Regions from separate parts of the Homo sapiens genome. Here regions 1 and 2 are each linked to region 3. Evidence: promoter capture Hi-C in 16 types of primary human blood cells and fetal thymus (Javierre and others, 2016). All regions are on one chromosome and are shown on one strand. Each heading gives the region's core, a stretch centred on a gene start or on the middle of the fragment in contact. The rest is flanking DNA. Distances are from core to core; before and after follow the strand shown. Region 1 has its middle 10 kb from the start of CD69. Region 2 has its middle 27 kb from the start of KLRB1. Region 3 holds the start of CLEC9A (C-type lectin domain containing 9A).

Region 1 (2,700 bases), core at 36-2,535, 280 kb after region 3:
GAGTTCTCAGGAGATCTGGTCTTTTCAAAGTGTGCAGCACTTTCTCTCTCTCTCTCTCTCTTTCTCTCTCTCTTTCCTGCTTTCTCCATGTGACATGCCTGCTCCCACTCCACTTCACCTTCCAACATACATAAAAGCTCCCTAAGCTTCCGCGGAAGCTGAGCAGTGTCAGCATTATGCTTGTAAAAACTGCAGAACCGTAAGCCAATTAAGCCTTTTTTCTTTATAAATTACCCAGTCTCAGATATTTTTATAGCAATGCAAGAATAGCCTAATACATTTGATTACCTTCAAAATTGTTTTATAAATGTAATTTGCAATATTCTTCTCTGCTTGTTGGAAATGTATGATGTGTATGGTATCTCTAAACTATTGGCAAACGGCAAACAGAAATGTGGATTTCAGACACTGCTTAGTGAAAAATAATGACCTCTGTGCTCCTGAGTTCCCACAGCTGTGGGAAAAAAGAAACAAGCAGCCTCCTAGCGGTAATATTCTATCATTACCAACAATCTACTCCCGAGTCATCTTAGAAAACAATGTCTTGCGATTAATATTTTAGTTATAACATATTTTTATGTGCATAAATCTAATCAAATTATGAAAATTGAGAGCAAGCTTAAAAATATTTCTATATTAGTATGACACAATTTTTAAGTCATTGAATACTGACTGTATCACCTAACAATTCAATGAATTTTATCATTTTTACAAATAATTTTATTGAATCCCTATAATTATGTGAAATGAGCAGCTGATGTATTTCCCTTTCCAGAGGAAGAAGTTGAAATTATGTTGAAAAAGCGACGCAAAACACGGATAACAGAGTTATTTTTTACACATAATTTGAAGTCATTTTATTCATAAGGACAACTGTTTTCTTTAAATAGATAAAAAATATACAATTCTTAAAGGGAATAATGTTATTATTTAAAGTATGACTCTACTTGCAAGTGACCAATGACAAATATAAAAAATGGGTTTGTCTCAAGAACCCCTCCTGCCCCCGGCTAAGTCCCCTGTTACAAAAGTTGCAGTGCCATCTAGTGGTTATACGAGATTACTGCACTTCTGTTTTAAGGATCCTACAAAACATCTATGTGGAGCGTGGAGCTGCTGAGACCCAAAGCACGGGGGCCAGACCGCCCGAGTTTCATCTCTGCCACGCGCGGGCTGACTAGCTATTTTATCAGAACTCGTTCAAAATTCAGCTAAAATTAGTTAGATGTTAAATTAGTTAGTACATGAAAACAAACTTAAAACATTATCTGGCTCCCTAGTACACCATAGGCATGTATTAAATACTCATGATGATTATTAGAACTAGAAACACTATGTCTTCAAACTTCCAGTATTGGCATAAAGCCGCGTTTCTACACGACATGTCTATTTCTACGTAATATATCTTATTTGTATTTGTTTTTGGAAAGCCTTTTAAAAATTTCATTTCACAAGTTATAAGTAAGCACCTACTACTATGGTGGACACCAGAGTTAAAATACTCAGCAAATTCCGCATGGCAACTGGCCTTGTGGAATTCGTGGTCTATTTGTAAAACAAACAACAAGATGAATTGACATGGTGTGATGAATGTTATAATAGGAAAAACGTAGGGTGCTATGGAAGCATATTAAAGATATACTCCTGTATTCAAACCTTTAGCTAATTATCAAAATTTTAACTCTGTAGGCTACATTCATCTTGGATAGTTACATAAATATGTGTAAAATAAAACTATCAGTTATCCGTGTTTTGCGTTGCTTTTTCAACATAATTTCAATTTCTTCCTCTGGAAAGGGGAATACATCAGCTGCACATTTCACATAATTGTAGGGATTGGATAAAACTTTTTAAAAAGGCTAAAATGCCATTGAACTGTTAGGTGCTATAGTCAGTATTCAACTACTTAAAAATTGTATGATACTAATATAGAAATGATATTTTTAAGCTTGCTGTCAATTTTCATAATTTGATTAGATTTTGCACATGAAAATGTATTATAACTGAAATTAAAATGTAAATGATTTTTCAGGGAAAAATATTGGGAAATATATGACCAGAACGACTGCTGGTGATGGTGTAAACTGGTTTCCTTTACCCTTTGGAAAGCAGCTTGACAATACTTACTGGGGAGGGAGGGAGATTTTAAAGAAATAATCTTGGATGTGCAAGACATAACCACAAAAATGTTTATCAAAGGGATATTTCTAGTAGTGAAAAATCAGAAGCTACCTAATTGTCCAAAACCAAAGATTTAGTTAAATAAATATAATGCTCCTACATGATGAAATGCTATCCCAACATTAAAAAATAATGAAGAACATTTATGTATATGAAAGAATACTCAAACTATTATTGCTGCTAGTTTAAAATAATATATACAATAGGATTATTTCCTGTTCAATATTAAATATACAAAACATGTTTTATATTTCTATATGCTGACAGAAAGTAAAACTACTAAAGTAAACACAGTGGTTTTCCCTGAGGAGGAGGAATATAGGAAGTATTTATTTTCTTTATGTTTTTCTATAATTTTGGATCTCTTTCTTTCTTTCCTTTCTTTTTCTTTTCTCTTTTTTCTTTCTTTCTTTCTTCTTTTTTTCCTTTTTTTTTTTTTTCCGAGTCTCACTCTGTCGCCCAGGCTGGAATGCTGTGGCTCGATCTCCGCTCACTGCAGCTTCTGCCTCCCGGGTTCAA
Region 2 (2,700 bases), core at 169-2,668, 400 kb after region 3:
CTCTTGTCTAATTGCTTGGGCTGGGCTTCTAGTACTATGCTGAATAAGAGTGATGAGAGTAGCCATCCATGTTTTGTTCCAGATCTTTGGGAAAAAGCTTTCAGCTGTCATAACCAAAATAGATCTGAGGAATGAGCATTCCTTACCTTGGGAACAGCAGGAGCAAAGGGCCTAAGGAAGGGGAACCTGGCATGTGCTAGGAATGGAAAGAAGTTCTTGTGGATCTAATATGATCAACATGGCAGTGGAGGCAGAAGTGGAGAAGGATGAGTGGTGAAGGTTGAGGCTGAGGACATGTAAAGATGCTAGATTGTATTGGACCTTGTTAAACAGCGAGAAGGATTTGGGTATCATTTTTTTCTCTAACTGCAAAAAGGAGCTATTGAAGGACTTCAAGCAGAGAAAAGATACTTTTGCATTTTTATATTTTAGAAGATACCTCTGACTGCTAGGTGGAACAGGTTTGCAGAAGGGTAACTGTGGAAGCGACAACTAGATCTGTTAATCTACACATCTGTACCTGTGTAAATACAGAAGTGAAGTGAGCCAAGAATAAAATCTTAATTTTGCATTTAGAGGAAAACACAGGAAAAGTCAGCAAATGAGAAACTGTGGCCCTTGAAGTGGGAAGAACAGTAGAATAATGTGTTTTAGGAAGATATAAGGGAAAGACATTGGACAGGGGCTACTTTGTTTATAGGATTACTTTTCAGTGGTTTCAATTGTAGAGGAAAAATACCCATATTCCTCAATTGCACTTATTATTTTCTAATAATGAGTCATAAAGAATGCTAGTAGTATGCAAGTAGCTAATACAATAACCTTATTGTATTTGAATCTCTGTAGGCTATTCTCAAAGAAAAATTGCATTGGACAAAGTTAAATAGGCAAGGAAGACTTTATTCAAAATTGTTGCAATAGGTGTCAAGCCTGTTCCAATAAGAAAGAGAGACTGTATTCAAATCTGTTGAACAAAAAGCAGGAGAGATTGTAAAGGCTGGAGTATGCTAGTGAAAAAGTTCTGGAGAATATTAGTGGGGAAGGTGGGTCAACATGATTAGGCCATCTGTATTTGCTAACTGGCACATATGGAAGTTAGAGTACTACCCTCCCACAGAGATGGGAAGATAAGGGAACTATTTTTCTTGATGATTATTTTTCAAAGAAATGGCTCCCAGGTCTTTGAGAAAGATATTCCTGGGTTGCAAAACCGATAAAAGGCTAGAGAAAAATTTAAATCTCAAATAAGAAGACAGAAAGAATTTATAGTGGGAAGTTTTCTAAAGTAAACAATCTAAGAAAAGAGAAGTAAAGGAGTGATACGTCAGGGAGAAATCTGTCTAAAGTTTAGTCAAGTTGAGGGGAACATCAAGGCAGTCCCGTTCATCCTATACATGTATAAAATCTTGTTCAGAGGTACCTTGACATTAACTCACCCTCAAAATTCTTGCAAAACTCATAACAGAATATTTTATTTACGTTTGCAAAGTCTAAGCAATATGGATAACATTTTGTGTTGAAAGCAGCTAAAAGGCTTTTAGCAAAGCAACACAATAAACACTGGTTTAATCTGCTTGAATTTAGCCAGACCACTCAACTAAGAGCAGAGCTACCTTTTTAAGAATTAAGCCCAGCCTTAGGCAAAACTGTGAAGTAGACACGATTTTGCTTTAGTTCTTCACCTCCATGTGTCCTGGTATAACAGCCCCCAATGATACTGTAGATTTTGAAAGAAGCCTGAATTTGGGAGTTGAGAAACAGTTCAGTCTTCCTGTTTACTCATCTACAAAGTAAAGAAAAGAATATCTACTTAGCAAATACAAGTATTGGTACCTCCAATGAAATAATGTGGATTTAAACATTTCATCAATTAGTTTCTGACTTCAGTACACAGGTGTAAGGACAGAAAAAGAAAGGCATTGCAGCGCCCTCTTCTGGGAACTGTTGGTAAACTAACTCAGATAGTTGAAATGGATTTTCTAGGTGAATACAAAAGTTTCACTCTAGGAATAACTGCTCCACTTTTTAAAATATACAGATACATTGAAGTGTGCAAACAAACATCAAATTCAAACTCTTGAAGAGAAACACCAATGTTCATCCTTTTCCTCAACCCCTATCCACACATCCATGCAGGCAGCCCAGGGGACCTCAGATTGAAAATCGGAAAATAACTTATCAAGAAGCCATGTCACTTATAGCATTAGCTCTAAAACTTTAATTCATCTATGTATTACCTGGAGATCTTTTAAAACTGCAGATTCATATTCACTGGGTCCAGGATTCTACATTTCTAACAATCTCCCAGGTGAGACCTACACTGATGGTGGCATGACTGAAATCACCTTTGAAAAATTATAACAGTGAGAATGTAACCACCCAACAGGTTCACCTTGCCCAAGGCCTAGACAGAGCCAATATATCAAGACAGGGAAATTGCAATAGAGAAAGAGTAACTCATGCAGAGGCAGCTGTGTGGGAGTCCAGAGTTTTATTCAAAACTCAAATCAGTCTCTTAGAGCATTCAGGGAGCAGTTTTTAAGAACAACTTGGTAGGTGGGGGGAATCCAGTGATACAGGACATAGAAATAAATTATTTAGGCAGATAGTAAGGACAACAGAGTCATAGGCAGAATTTTCCATTTTAACAAAAAGCAGCCCAAAAAATCATTTCTTTTCTAACAAAGAGCAGCCTGAGAA
Region 3 (2,700 bases), core at 174-2,673:
GGATGTTGTGAGTATTTTGGATTTTAGTCATTCAAATAGTATACAGTGGTTTCTCATTGTTGTTTTAATTTGCAATTCCCTCCTAAGGTATGACATTGAGCATCTGCAACACTGAACTTAGCTCTCCAAACAAGGCTCAGCCTTGTCTGCATTCCTTTCCCTACCCTCACTTCCCCTTCTACTTGGAATGTTATTTGTAGCATTTGTTTGTCTCCTGTAACCCTGCCAATCCTTCCCAATCCTCAGAGCCTTCACTGACAGCATCGGGCGGCTCACTCGTTCCTGCTGCCATAGTAATTTGTGCGTAACTTTTCTTGAGATTTATCACATCCTGTTATTATATGCTGTTTCTTCTACCGACATTGGTTGCTACTCCCATTTCTCAACCTCCTGGCTTCAAGCAATCCTCCCACCTTGGCCTTCCAAAATGCTGGGATTACAGGTGTAACTAACTGCACCTGGTCTTGCTACTCCCGTTTCTAAATAAAATTTCAATCTGAGTAAAAACTAAAGCCAATTTCTTCCCAAAATGGTGGGGGGCACTGGACACAATATCGAAGACCATTAGCACAATCAGTAGCACCAGACAATGAGTCAGCAGAGTCACTAAAGCCTCAGGCCACGAGTTAGAAGACACTTCACAGATTAAAGGAAATCAACAGAGGAGTAAGAAATAACCAGGGATGGCCTCCTGGAGATTTCGTGTTTGACTCCCTTTCCCTCTCTATCTCTAAAGAGAAAGTGCAGAGGGCATTTTAGACTGAGGGATCAGTAGGAGCAAGAGTAAGGAAGCTACCTGATTTACAGAGGCTGTCTACTGCCTGCAGTATCAGGCCATTGAAATACACTTAACGTCTTTCCACCAGCGGCTCCAGCCTTCCCCTCCACTTGCATCTTCCCTCATCCATCTCTGCAGATGATACATACTCCCACATATCATTCATTATTTCTTAAATATATCAGCTCACACCTTCATATTATTTTACATTTCTTCAGAATCTTTCCTAACCTAGAATGCCCTTTCCCCTTTCTCCTTTAATCATGCCTTTCTTATAAAGTAGGTTCAGATGACCTTCTCTGTCAGCATCATCTGTAATGACATACCTTCCACCCTACTGCCAGTGGTTCTTACCTCTTCTGCAGAGAGTATCATCAGTTTGAATCATTTAGATCTTGGCTAACATGGGAATCTTTACCATTGTGTGGATCAAATACCCAGATCTTGATAAGAAAAATAAAAATGCTATTGTCACATAAATGGCTGGGTTTAATCATCTGTGGGCCTTAGAGTATGTTTTCTTCAGGACAAGGTAGGCCGTTGTGCTTCACAAGAGCTTGCGAGTTATTTGAGAAGAATCAAAACATGTTGCCAGTCTAGCAGAAAAGCATTTCAACTTCACCACAGATTGCCACAGCCGGGTACAAACGGAAGTCCCGCCCCCTTCCAGGTTGTTGGGGTGGGAGCTGCCGGATGAGCTGCTGCGGCCCTCGGGGCGCAGGACCACACCATCTGCGCAGCCTGCACCCTCGCGGCCCGGTAAACTTGACAGTTTCTTATAGAGGTAAGTATAGTATTAACAGACAATCTAGGAACCATAGAAAGTGGAAAACCTGTACACACTGCTGAGACCAGCTCGGTCTGGGAGACCCTAACCCAGAGGCGCTAGAGGAATTAAAGACACACACAGAAATATAGAGGTGTGAAGTGGGAAATGAGGGGTCTCACAGCCTTCACAGCCGAGAGCCCCGAACAGAGATTTACCCACGTATTTATTAGCAGCAAGCCAGTCATTAGCATGGTTTCTGTAGATATTAGGTTAACTGAAAGTATCCCTTATGGGAAACAAAGGGATGGGCCGAATTAAAGAAATAGGTTGGGCTAGTTAACTGCAGCGGGAACATGCCCTTAAGGCATAAATTGCTCATGCTATTGTTTGTGGCTTAAGAATGTCTTTAAGTGGTTTTCCACCCTGGGCGGGCCAGCTGCTCCTTGCCCTCATTCCCGTAAACCCACCACCTTCCAGCATGGGTGTTAGGGCCATCATGAACATGTCACAGTGCTGCAGAGATTTTGTTTATGGCCAGTTTTGGGGCCAGTTTATGGCCGGATTTTGGGGGGCTTGCTCCCAACACACACAAAAACTGGCACACACATTTTCACAGGAGCTTTATTCATAATTGCCAGACATTAGAAGTAATTATGATGTCTTTCAAAAGATGAGTGGATAAACAAACTGTGGTACATTCATGCAATGGAGTATCATTCGACAACAAAATGAAATGTTGTCAAACTATGAAAAACATGGAGGAATCTTAAATGCATATTACTACGTGAAAGAAGCCGGTTTGAAAAGCTATCATATTATCCTAGCTATATGACATTCGAGAAAAACCAAGACAAAGAAAACAAAGAGATCAGTTGTGACCAATGATTCAGGGGAAGAGGAAGATTGATAGGAAGGGGGAAGATTGCTGAGTAGGTAGGGCACAGGGGATTTTTGTCTGCAAAAATGTACACCCATGTACATAAGCAGGGCTCTGAATTTTTTAAACTTTTCAAATTTTGTGGCAGGGCCTATTGAATGGGTTGAGGGAGACCTTCCTGATTGATACCTACTAATGTATATACAAATTTGAGACAGATATTTTGAGGGAGAGTGGAATTCAGGTACAACATACCTATTACCCCAGAAAGGTGTC

What was found. Contacts are between HindIII fragments. The CHiCAGO score rates a contact against its expected background, and 5 or more counts as called.
Region 1: a contact is called between a fragment that was not itself captured here and the fragment with the promoter of CLEC9A in region 3, in 7 of 17 cell types (M2 macrophages, megakaryocytes, M0 macrophages and 4 more). The highest score is 17.1, in M2 macrophages.
Region 2: a contact is called between a fragment that was not itself captured here and the fragment with the promoter of CLEC9A in region 3, in 1 of 17 cell types (neutrophils). The highest score is 5.2, in neutrophils.

Annotation. Positions count from the first base shown.
Region 1 is chr12:9,749,266-9,751,965 of GRCh38, reverse strand. No RefSeq gene overlaps it. Among named protein-coding and RNA genes, the nearest start is that of CD69, 10 kb to the left of the region's middle. RefSeq lists a silencer at 419-498 and an enhancer at 959-1,253. The HindIII fragment of the contact is 1,330 bases long and covers 621-1,950 here.
Region 2 is chr12:9,633,610-9,636,309 of GRCh38, reverse strand. It overlaps the pseudogene LOC374443. Among named protein-coding and RNA genes, the nearest start is that of KLRB1, 27 kb to the right of the region's middle. The HindIII fragment of the contact is 2,637 bases long and covers 100-2,700 here.
Region 3 is chr12:10,029,405-10,032,104 of GRCh38, reverse strand. It overlaps CLEC9A (C-type lectin domain containing 9A), which reads right to left and starts at 1,423. Exons shown (of 9, transcript NM_207345.4): 1 at 1,133-1,423. It overlaps LOC102724020 (a long non-coding RNA gene), which reads left to right and starts at 1,482. Exons shown (of 4, transcript NR_169587.1): 1 at 1,482-1,562. The HindIII fragment of the contact is 4,478 bases long and covers 1-2,700 here.